Regions from separate parts of the Homo sapiens genome. Here regions 2 and 3 are each linked to region 1. Evidence: promoter capture Hi-C in human tissues and cell types (Jung and others, 2019). All regions are on one chromosome and are shown on one strand. Each heading gives the region's core, a stretch centred on a gene start or on the middle of the fragment in contact. The rest is flanking DNA. Distances are from core to core; before and after follow the strand shown.

Region 1 (3,861 bases), core at 947-3,446:
ACTTGCCTTCCCTCTCCCCTGCACTTGCATCTGTCTTCACCTTTGTTGCCCTTATCATGAATGGAAGCATCCCTGTTCCTCTCCAAGGTCAACCCTCCCTGTTTCCTTATATCTTCTGATGGATTTCACTCCTATATAGGTCAAGCAAGCCTCCTCTCTCCTGGATCACCCATCTTTCTTCCCCACCATATCCCTCCCAATGGCACATAAACATGCTCTGGGAACCCTACCATCTTTTATTTTATTTATTATTATTTTTTGAGATGGAGTCCCGCTTTGTTGCCCAGGCTGGAGTGCTGTGGCCCAATCTTGGCTCTCTGCAACCTCTGCCTCCCGGGTTCAAGCAATTCTCCTGCCTCAGCCTCCCCAGTAGCTTGGATTACAGGCGCGCGATACCATGCCCAACTAATTTTTGTATTTTTAGTAGAGACCGGGTTTCACCATATTGGCCAGGCTGGTCTCGAACTCCTGACCTCAGGTGATCCACCTGCCTTGGCCTCCCAAAGTGCTAGGATAACAGGCGTGAGCCACTGCGCCCGGCCCCTACTATCTTTTAAAAGATTTCTTTCTATATCTATCCCCAAACTTATCTGGTCCCTTCACAGCAAAACCTCTCTCAAATTGCATACATGTGCTGTCTCCATTTCCTCACTTTCCTGGTGACTGTTTAACCCATTCCGGTCAGGTCCACCTCCCTGATATACTCACGTGAATCAAGCCAAGGCCATCAGTGACATTCTCCAGTGACTTGCAAGGTGACCCAATCCAATAGCCACATCTCTGGCCCAAGTTTATCACACCGCTCAGCTGATGCCTCCTACCTGAAACCTTCTCTGCCCAGGGATTCCACAACTCAGCGCTAGCTTTCATGACTTCCTAGATGCTGCCTTTCAGACTCCTTCTCCATTACCCTCCCAATATTGGAGTGCCCCAGGATTTGGCCATGGAATTTCTCTTCACTCTTTCCTCCAAGCCAAGCCAGGGGTCGTAAACTGACAGCTCATCTGTGTGGTTTAATCAGCTCATGAAGTTTAAAAACATCTGATTCAGTTGCTAACATCTAAAAACTCTGGAGATTTGACATCTTAAAAATACAGATTTTTTTATTCCTTTAGGGGAAAAAAAAAGAGTATGTTATTGGGCCAGCATTCTCACAACGGAACGGTCAGATGGATGGAGAAGAAGCTGCTCCCTAGATATTGGGTCCATTTGATATCTAAGGGAAGAGTCATATTCCCTGTAAGTACCAAAAGGCTCTCATCCCAGAGCCACCAGCACCTTGCAGTCAGTTCTTGGTCAACTTGACTGCAGGTTGGGAAGGGTCCGCAGGCGCCTCCTGGGGAGGGGTGGGACTGAAGGTCTCCGCCCACAGAGAACAGCTCTCCCGCAAAGACAAGAAATGCACGTTTCCACAGAATTACACAGCGCTAAATACAGAAACTCCTTTCAGTAAAAAGCGATTGCTATGAACGTGTTAAAGCATCAAGTCTGGTTTTCCGCCACCTCTCCGGGCTGAGGTGGCCTGGGGACACCAAGAGGAGGCCCTCCCACTCTCCTCTCGCACCCGCTTTTAGGTGGCCCTCTTCTAGGGCGGAGAGATCACCAAAAGCCGCTGAGCAAGGACAGCCCTTCCAGTCGTCGCTCGCGGGCACGGAGCTGGGAGCGCGCGGGAACCGACCGGGCCTTACTCTGGGGCGGGCAGCTGTAAGACATTCGGAGGGCGGGTCGGGCCTGGCTGGGGCGGAGACTGGGCGGGGCCGGGCCCGGGAGCCTCCTCAGCCCCACTGGCTTGCCCCGCGCGCGCTTCCTCCAGCCACCCCCACTTCCCCAACCCTGTACGGGTTCAGGGGGCCGGAGACAGCAGCTAGGGAATAAGGTCAAGCGGACTGGATCCGGCACCGCCCAGGGGCGGCGGCCTCCGCCCAGGAAGCCCCACCCAGCGGGAGCCAGGACGCCGCGGCGCCGGCAGAGCCCACGAGCGACCCGGCGAGGGCGCGTGCGGCGTGACGACGCGACTCGCGGCGCGTCCCGTGACGCCATCGCGCCCGCTTTTGAAAGTTGGCGCCCGGGGCCGCCTCCCATGCTGCCCTGCGCCAACCCCTCCCCTCACCTTTCCTCCCCCGCCCTCTACTCGCCGCCCGGCCGGTCCCCCCACCCGTCCCTTCCCTTATCAGCACCCGCGGCCCCGGCAGCGCCGACGCAGGCGCACTGCACCGCGCCGCCGCCATTTTGTGTCTGAGCCTGTGGAGCGATTAAACCGTGCGCGGAGCTGCTTCTTTGGCGGCAGCGGCGGCGGCGGTGGCCGGTGCGGACGCGCGGAGCTCGCCGGAGACGCCGGGTGGCCGGAGCCGTGGAGCGGCGGCGGAGCGGGCGCCGCGGGGGGTGTGGCGCGGAGGTAAGGGGGCCCGGGGTGGAGGAGGTTTCGCGGGCCGCCTCTAGGTGTCACGATGGGGCCGCTCCGGTCGGCGCTGGCTGCAGCCCGGCGCCAGCGCCGCCGCCGGGGGGTGTTTGTCTCCCTCTACCGTCCCTGCTGCGGCGCGGCCGCCGCCATTGCCCGTCGCCGCCGTGGCCCGGCCGCCCCCCCCACCCCCACGCCCGCCCGCCCGCCCGCCCGCTAGGCCTCCCTCCTGGCAGCGCGCTAGGCCTCGGGCGGCGGCAGAGGCAGAGGCCCGCGCGCCCGGCGACTCCATTTTCCTTCCTTTGTCTGCCCTCGAGGCCGGTTCTTGGCCGGCCGATCGCCCGGCCGCGGCCCGCCCTCTGTCCTGTGTCCTCCGCCCCTCCCGCGGCGGGTGGCCCCAGCTGAGACACTATCTCCGCGTCCCGGCTTCGGCGCCCGCCTAGCTTAAGGGTTCGGACCGACTGCCGCCGCGCGCTAAGCCAGGTCCCGGTGCCGTATGGGTGTCGGGCCCTGGCCGTCGCGTCTCGGGCTGCCCCTCCTCCAGCCAGCCCCGTCCCCGGAACCTACCCTGCCGGCCTGCGTGCCTTCCCAGCTGCTTGGCTGCTCGGCGGTCGCTCCCAGTCCGCGCGTCGCCGCCGCTGGTCTCCGTCTCCGCCGAGTGGCGCAGGCGGCGCTGCAGCGGCTGCGAGCAGAGGGACCCCAGAGCTGCCGAGAGCTCCCTCTGCAAGGCTGGCTGAGCTGCTCGCACCTCTACGCTGCCTGAGCGGGCGGGGGGACGCGCGCTCGCCGCCCCCGCTGCGCCCCCAAACTCGCGCCCGGGTTCCTGGCCGGACCCGACCGGTGCGGCCCCCCCACGGTGGGCGGAAAAGATGCGAGTTCCGCACCAAGTAGTTTTTATCCAGCCGGGTTCGGACTCCCCAGCCGAGTGATAGCAGCCTGACTTTGTGCGCTCAGAGATCTCAAAGGGACTGAAACTTAAATTTCATTCTGATCTCAAGTGACGTGACAAATTTCTGAATTTGGGAGTATGGGCTAAGTCCCTTGAGTTTCCCTCCCGCTTTAAAATGTCCTCACACTAACTTAGTACCTGATGCTCTAGGGCTAGGTGAAGGCGGTTCTGCCCCAGGATTGTGCAACTCGATCTAGAGCGCCAGTAGGGCAGAATGAGTTTATTCTTGACTCGACTGGTAATTTGCCCATGCGATGAAATATGAGGGTTGATGTTGTAATTGAATCCTGGGTCACTTGCTGCAGATGGTTTATAAATATCTACGCCTAATGTAACTACTGTTTAGTAGGAGACTTCCTGTAGCCCCGAGTTCAGCGTTAAGTAAACATTCGCATACGTAGTCTTCATACTTTGAGTTTCGATCAACTAGGAAAGTTAAAAACCAAGTCCTCATAGGTGGGAAAGGAAGTTAAACAAGGCATATATTTAAATTTATTCGGTCCTTAAGTTTTCT
Region 2 (3,861 bases), core at 497-2,996, 630 kb before region 1:
ACCACCCTCAGCCCAAGGTCCCTCTTCTTAGTTTGTTGTTTTGGGCAAATCATCCAACTTCTATGGGCCTCAGTTTCAACACCCATAAAATAGGCACAACAATCTCCCTCCCCAAAGATACCCTTCGGTGTTCGTGAGCATAGAGCACGCCAGCTCCTGCTGCACAGAAACCTTTCTGACTCTCTGGAACAACTCGCTCCCCTCGGAAGTGACTCACCTGAACCCGCACCTGCTCTACTACGTTCAACTCCTCTAGCGTCAGTGGATGCTCCGGGTCATTGATGGAGCGAATCAGATGTGGGAAGTGAAGGAAAAGGGACTCTGCGCCCTTGCCCACTTAGAACCCTCTGCCAGGAACGCCCTGCTGGGATGCGGCTCCACCAGCTGCTCGATATCACTGCTCCCCCCACCGCAAGCCCCCGGAACCCGCCCGCGCCCAGCAGCGGCGGATATCGAAGATCTCGCGTGCGTCGATGCTGTCGGGAACCTGCTCGTCCTCCTCGCCTGCCGTCACAGGCCGCTCCCCAGAGCGCTGGTAGATGAGGGGGTTGGCATTCTCCAGGAGGCCGCCGCCGACCCCGCCGCCGCCTACCATCGCGGAACCACCACCGCTGATCCTAGCAGGCGTGCGCTTCCGCTCCAACCCGCGCACTTCCGGAGAACGGGAAGGGGGCGTGGCGTGGCGACGGAGTCGCGCGAGGGACACGCCGCGTTGTGGGTTCTCGGCCTGAGGTGCGAGAGAAGCGGTGACCGCGGCCCTGGCTGCTCGGACCCGGGAACATGATGGTCGCTGGAGCAGAAGGCGCTGAGAAGGGACCACGGCGGCGCTGGGTCGTGCGAGCCAGTAGCGGGCTGAAACGTAGAGGCCAGAACCAGGTCTCAGGGGGCACTAAAGGCGGTCGGAGGTAATCCCCACACCGCTTCCTCCTGGAAGTCAGGCTGGCCGGGAGCTCCCGTATCCAGGACGGTTGGTCGCCTCTGGCCTGGCAGGGATCCTAGTGTCTCGGGACCTCCCGGTGACGCGCCTGCCTCCCCTGCTGCACCATAGGCCCGGGAGTACGGCGTCCCCACAGCTTGGACCGGCAGGGGCTCGTGAAATGTTTGTCAAGTGGATAAATGACCATGGCCGTGGTCTCCGCGGGAGGTGAGGAAACTGAAAGCCACCGAGGAAAAGGGGGGCGCTCCTTAAGAAGTGCCGCGGTCACGTGTACGTTTCAAAAGAATGGCGTGACTGAGTAGGGAGGGGACCGCGGAGACCCTCAGACCCTGGACTGTAAGGAGATGAGGGGCCGTGAAGGGGAACCCAGGAAACTGAGTCCTGAAAGCAAGGAGGAACTTCCAGAATGAAGGGCGCCGACACTCCTTCCTGCCTTTGCTCAAGCGGTTCCTTCACCCCGATCAAGTTCCTTCCCATTTCTCCATCTGGGGGATCCTGAACGTGCACATCCTCAGAGAAGCCCTCCTGGGGTCTCCAATTCTAGTTTATTGCCCCCTCCTATCGATCCCCCAGCGCGCTCATCGGGCCTGTGGACAAGGACAGGTTTGAAGAGAGGATTCCCTGGATCGCGGAAGGGCTGCAGGAATGGCACAGCCCCTTCCGAGGATGCCAAAGGAGCCCGGGCAAAGGAAAGTGGCCGTGCCCGGGCCTGCCTACCACTAGATCCCCACCCACCTATGACTGCTCAGTCCCGCTCTCCTACCACACCCACCTTTCCCGGCCCAAGCCAGCGCACCCCGCTGACTCCCTGCCCAGTCCAAACTCCAAGGCTGGGCAAGGCACTGATCCACTGCTGGACAGACCCGGGGCAGCCTCTGGGTGAACAGCAGCGTGTCCGCCGGCAGCGAACCGAGACCAGCGAGCCGACCATGCGGCTGCACAGACTTCGTGCGCGGCTGAGCGCGGTGGCCTGTGGGCTTCTGCTGCTTCTTGTCCGGGGCCAGGGTGAGGCTCCCTCGGAGGGGCGACAGGGACCGGGCTCAGATCTGCCAAATGCTGCGGAGGCAGAACCTGACAGTGCGGGAGGGCAGGCGCCTGGGAGGTAGGAGCTGGTGGAGATGACAGCGTGGAACTCGTGAGCCCCACGCAACGCCTCCCCGCCGCCCAAGGTGGGCTCCTAGAAGCACAGAAAGGGTCGGGCTGGGGGACACCACGGCAAGGAACCAGCGGAGTACAGGGGCCCCAGGAGCGCCGGGACATGCCAGGCCGGGTAGGCAGCCTGGGGTCGGAGTGGGTGAGGGATTGGGGTGTGGGGATTCAGTCCATTTCCCTCTTATGATTGTGGCTGTAGCGGGTGCTGCCGGCCGGTAATAACAGTAATAGCTTCTGGCAGCATCTGGCTCTCAGTGTGTGGCGTCCTTGGCCAGGGGGGATGCCCTGAGCCCTCCAAAGGGGCCTCAGACAAGGATAGTGGTCCTTGGGGAACAGAAGCCCCCAGGCGCCAAATCCTAAAGCAGATCTAAGAGGCCACAGTGGCTGGGTGCGATTGGCTCACTCCTTTAATCCCACCACTTTAGAAGGCCAAGGGAGAGTATCGCTTGTGCCCAGGAGTTGGAGGCCAGCCTGGACAACATAGTGAGACTCGGAGTGTACAAAAAATTGAAAGAAATTAGTGGGCTGTGGTGGTCTGTGACCTGTAGTCCCAGCTACTTGGGAGGCTGAGGTGGGAGATCACTTTAGTAGGGGAGGTTGAGGCTGCAGTGAGCCTTCATCCCACTACTGCACTCCAGCCTGGGTGAAAAAGCAAAAATCTGTCTCCAGAAACAAGAACCAAAGAGCTCGTGGTGTCCCTCATGCCATTTACCTCATCCTGGGCAAGGGCACAACTTGGCTTCCAGGGCAAAGGTGAAGGCTCTGTGTGCCTGCCAGGCTTCTCCAGGCCCTTATCAGAAGCTGGGGGAGTGTTTCGGCCTTTGGTCCTCTCACCCGAAACTCTCCTAAGTGTATGATCTGTCTCTTCCAACCCTTCCCCAATTTAATTTGCGCAGGTGGAGTCCATACTCCCCCCGCCCCATGGTGCACTGCTGCAGGGCTTCCTCCCGTGCCTGCCCTTGACCACATTCTAGAGTTCACCAGGAGCCCAGCAGGAAGATCTGCCTGGCCTCACAGATGGCTACCTTTTAAAATATTTTGGGCCAGGCACAGTGGCTCACACCTGTTATCCCAGCACTTTGAGAGGCAGAGATGGGAGGATCACTTGAGGCTAGGAGTTAGAGACCAGCTTGGGCAACAAGACTTGTCTCTACCAAAAAAAAAAAAAAAAAAAGTCAAGCATGGTGGCAGACAGCTGTACTCCAAGCTACTCAGGAGGCTGTGGCGGGAGGATCTCAAGCCCAGGAGGTGGAGGCTGCAGTGAGCTGTTATCATATTACTGCATTCCAGCCTGGGCAACAGATGGCGACCTTGTCTGACAAATATATATGTATACAAAATTTTGGGTTGGACCCACATTCAGAAAAAATAATTGACAAGCCATAGGAGGGTACAGGTGATGTGTGCCATCCTCTTTTTACCCAACCAGTCCTGGCTTCTCCTCAGGGGCCATCAAAGTCCCCATGGCCCACACTGGAAACTGCTTGTTGACACCGCAGTACACACAGTGCCCAGCAGTTTACACAAGAATAGATGTGTGCACTTGTCCTTGATTTTCATCTAAACAGTCATAAACTCACCCACTTTCTGGAGCCAGGCTTTTCTACAGCTGGGACTACAGGCATGCACCACCACACCCCGCCAATTTATTTCCTGATTTTTTTGCAGAGACAGAGTCCCACTATGGTCCCCAGGCCAGTCACTGTGCTTTTTATATCCCAGCCACAGCCATACTTTTCTCTTGCACCTCTTTTCACCAACATCACTCATGG
Region 3 (3,861 bases), core at 528-3,027, 530 kb before region 1:
GGCCATTCTAGAGATCTTTCAATTTTTATTTATTCCACATTTCCCATGGCAGAAACAATTATTGCTAGAGTCTTTGGCCAAGATCAACTTGGAGGTCTGTGAGCCCTCCTTGGACCCATTGTGGAGCAAGAGTGCTTCCTCATGGATTTTTTTTCCCCCCGAGACGGAGTTATGCTCTTGTTCCCCAGGCTGGGGTGCAATGGCACGATCTTGGCTCACCGCAACCTCTGCCTCCCAGGTTCAACCAATTCTCCTGCCTCAGCTTCCGAGTAGCTGTTTGAGACGGAGTCTTGCTCTGTGGCCCAGGCTGCAGTGCAGTGGCACCGTCTTGGCTCACTACAACCTCCGCCTCCCAGGTTCAAGCGATTCTCCTGCCTCAGCCTCCCGAGTAGCTGAGACTACAGGCGTGTGCCACCACACCCCGCTAATTTTTGTACTTTAGTAGAGATGGGGTTTTGCCATGTTGACCAGACCGGCCTCGAGCTCCTGATCTCAGGTGATCAGCCTGCCTCGGCCTCCCAAAGTGCTGGGATTAGGCCAGGCGCAGTGGCTCATGCCTGTAATCCCAGTACTTTGGGAGGCCGAGGCGGGCAGATCACCTGAGGTCAGGAGTTCGAGACCAGCCTGACCAACATGGCGAAACCCCGTCTCTACTAAAAATACAAAAAAATTAGCTGGGCGTGGTGGTGGGTGCCTGTAATTCCAAATACTCGGGAGACAGAGGCAGAAGAATCACTTGAACCCAGGAGGCGGAGGTTGCAGTGAGCCGAGATCGCGCCATTGCACTCCAGCCTGGGCGACAGAGCGAGGCTCTGTTTAAAAAAAAAAAAAAAAAAAAAAAAAAAAGAGGGCTGGGATTACGGGTATGAGCTACAGTGCCCGGCCACAGGACTAACTTTGAATCAAACTCTGCCATAAATCCCATGTCAGACTTTCTCCAGTTTGGGCTAAACAACTTCCCTAGAATTTATGGATCTTATTTTTTGCAGCTGATTGCACATTGAGTAAGTATATGGACTGGCAATCGGTTACATTCTTAACTCAGCTTGTTCTTCTTTAGAAACTTAAATTTATTGGGCTCCCACTGTGTGCTAGACCCACATAAAGGTTCTCACGCTAACACTGCAAACCTAGGAGTGTCTGCATTTTGGAAATAAGGAAACTGAGGTTTAGTGGTCCAATTCTTATCTAAGGCCCCAGCCAGCAGGTAGTGTAGCTGAGTGGGATCCCATCTAAGACCCATCTGACTCCAAAAGCCACGACCTTTCCACCATGACTCGGTTGGATTCTTTGGTCCGTTTCCACCTCAGTCTTCAACGTGCAGAGCCTACACCCCTGCCGGTCGGTTTAGGGACGAAAAGTCCCCAAGGACTTAGGTTTCCTCGCGTTCAAGTGACAATCTGGGGTTACTCCGCGCACCTGGGGAACCCAGAAGTTCCAGATGACCGAGGAAGGGCGGTAGAAAAGGCCTGCGCTGGCTACTCCCGTCTGCTAAAGGCCAGGCGGATCCCCCAACGACAGCTCCACGCCGAGTGGCCGCGGGCGAGCAGGGGGAAAAGGGCCCTGATGCGGAAGGAGCCCCGGGGCGCCACAGCCAGGCCGCTCCGCCAGCGGGCGGGTGGCGCATGCGCGGCGTGGGCCGCGGAGTTGTGAATGGTGCGTCTTGTTTGCCGGAGTTGGAGGCGGGCGGGCGCGCGAGGAGGAGGGGTGGGGCCGGCGGGGGCGGGGTGGGCGGTGAGAGGAAGTGGCGGCGGCGGCGGCGGCGGCGGCCGGGGGCGGTGAGCGCTGGGGCTGCGCGGGCGGCAGGCAACGGCTGAGGCGGCGGCGGCGGCGGCGGCGGCGTGGGTTGGGCTCGAGCGGGCGGCGGCGCCTCAGACTCCCCGGAACGGGAGCCCACGCGGGCGGGCGCCTGAAACAAAGGGAAGCGGGCGTCCGGGCGCCGCGGGTGGGCGGTCAGTCGGTCAGCGCGGAGCCAGCCAGCGGGTGCCCGCGCAAGCCCCGAGCGCGGCCGGCCGGCGCGGCCTCAGGGCGGGAAGATGCCGCGCGTCGTGCCCGACCAGAGAAGCAAGTTCGAGAACGAGGAGTTTTTTAGGAAGCTGAGCCGCGAGTGTGAGGTGAGGCAGGCGGGCGGGCGGCTAGGAGGCCGCAGCGCGCCCCGAGTGGGCCCGGGCGGAGAAAAGTTTGGGCGGCACGGTCCCCGGGAGTCCCGGTCGGTGCGCCCGCGGAGGGGCAATCTCGCCGGGGCGGCCATCGCCCGCAGCCTCTGCTTGCCCTTATCGGCGCTGCGCTGGGAGGGCGGGCGCGCGGGCGGCGCCGCGGATTTGGCTCCTGATTTCGGGCCGTCTTGCCTTGCAGATTAAGTACACGGGCTTCAGGGACCGGCCCCACGAGGAACGCCAGGCACGCTTCCAGAACGCCTGCCGCGACGGCCGCTCGGAAATCGTAAGTCGGCTGGCCCGGGGCGCGCGCGGGTCACTTGTTGCGCGGGGCCGCGGCGGCCCAGGCCGGTTCCGGACGGCGGCGCGGCTGCTGCGGCTCCCGGAACTGAGTGGGCGCCGTCTCACTTCCTACTCGGGATTCAAAATGCGAAACCAGATGCCGCGGGCCGGTACTCGCGGGGAGACGCTTTTCCTGGGGCTCGCCGCGGTGGCGCGTGTCGGCCAACGGAGCACCGCGAGTGGAGCTCGAACCCGAGCCAGACTAAACAAGCGAAGGGCATTGTTTAGGCGGCGACACCGAAGAAGGGTTCAGGGTATTTGTAGCAAGCAAACCCCCATTCGGAAAAAGAAGTGGAGCTTCATTCAAGGTCGGCGATAGTTTGTTTCTTAGAAGGTAGATCTGTCGGTAATTCTCTGTGTCAAGCGGTCTCACTACCAGATCGCCGAGTAGAAATCTTTCCTCCAGTTATTTATTCTAATAGAGAGGGGAGGGGGGGGAAAAGGCCCTAAAAATGTCATTTTCTTAGAATGTTAAGCTTCAGGAGAATCAGAAAGAAACCATTATCCCCATGTCCTGAGTAGGGCTGCTGTTCCTAAAAACTGCACAGATGGGCAAAACCCACGGTTGATCTCGAGGTCCTTGTTTTAGGAGGCAGATTTAGTGCGTCTTCACCAGACCTTGGGTTGAAAAAAAAAATCCAAGGGTCCTAGTTCCTCTCATCTTTTTGGTTTGCCTTGTTGGAGGTGCTGATGAGGAGGGAGTGGTAGGAAGAAACCAAGAAAAGAGGTTGATTATTACTATTTTTTTGAGGTAGAGTCTTGCTCTGTTGCCCAGGCTGGAGTACAGTGGCTCGATCTCGGGTCACTGCAACCTTCGCCTCCTGGGTTCAAGCGATTTTCCTGCCTCAGCCTCCTGAGTAGCTAGGATTACAGGTGCCTGCCACCACGCCCGGCTAATTTTTGCATTTTTAGTAGAGACGGGGTTTCACCTTGTTGGCCAAGCTGGCCTCCTGACCTCAAGTGATCCGCCCTCCTCGACCTCCCAGAGTGCTGGGATTACAGGCGTGAGCCACTGCGTCTGGCCTGATTATTTTTTAAAAAGTTGAAGCACTGTCTAATGGAATGCTGTTACTCTCTGCTCGGTGACTTGGACTCACTGCATTGTTAGAGGCTTGAAGCTAGGTGCGATTTGAATTTGGGTTAACAGTAGGAAGACATTGGAAATTTACTTCTCCCACCCCCTTTATAAAACCAGTTTATTTTTATTCAGATATAATTCATATGTCATAAAATTCTCCCTTTACATCACTGAACTCAAATTTATTTTTAAAGAATATTTTGATATTTTAAGTGAAAGCTTTTTAGAGTTGTAATAGTGAGAAGATACTGGTTAAATTTATCAGGAGCTCCTGAATATTTGGTC

Evidence for each region. Contacts are between HindIII fragments. The study calls those that stand out against the background at their distance.
Region 2: the fragment with the promoter of CES2 here is called in contact with the fragment with the promoter of CTCF in region 1 in 1 of the 25 tissues and cell types used here (adrenal gland).
Region 3: the fragment with the promoter of CBFB here is called in contact with the fragment with the promoter of CTCF in region 1 in 1 of the 25 tissues and cell types used here (adrenal gland).

What each region holds. Positions count from the first base shown.
Region 1 is chr16:67,560,330-67,564,190 of GRCh38, forward strand. CTCF (CCCTC-binding factor) reads left to right here and starts at 2,197. Exons shown (of 12, transcript NM_006565.4): 1 at 2,197-2,395. It overlaps CTCF-DT (CTCF divergent transcript), which reads right to left and starts at 1,980. Exons shown (of 1, transcript NR_158165.1): 1 at 1,082-1,980. LOC124903703 (a long non-coding RNA gene) reads right to left here and starts at 3,121. Exons shown (of 2, transcript XR_007065094.1): 1 at 2,966-3,121. RefSeq lists enhancers at 1,289-1,338, 1,359-1,408, 2,553-3,415 and silencers at 1,639-2,648, 3,169-3,268. The HindIII fragment of the contact is 9,573 bases long and covers 1-3,861 here.
Region 2 is chr16:66,933,770-66,937,630 of GRCh38, forward strand. CES2 (carboxylesterase 2) reads left to right here and starts at 1,747. Exons shown (of 12, transcript NM_001365405.1): 1 at 1,747-1,942. The coding sequence starts at 1,867. CIAO2B (cytosolic iron-sulfur assembly component 2B) reads right to left here and starts at 633. Exons shown (of 5, transcript NM_016062.4): 1 at 454-633; 2 at 218-297. The coding sequence starts at 595. RefSeq lists enhancers at 239-288, 319-518, 1,357-1,969. The HindIII fragment of the contact is 13,939 bases long and covers 1-3,861 here.
Region 3 is chr16:67,027,372-67,031,232 of GRCh38, forward strand. CBFB (core-binding factor subunit beta) reads left to right here and starts at 1,778. Exons shown (of 6, transcript NM_022845.3): 1 at 1,778-2,114; 2 at 2,356-2,442. The coding sequence starts at 2,037. RefSeq lists an enhancer at 1,041-1,180 and silencers at 1,741-1,930, 2,021-2,260, 2,511-2,560. The HindIII fragment of the contact is 10,821 bases long and covers 1-3,384 here.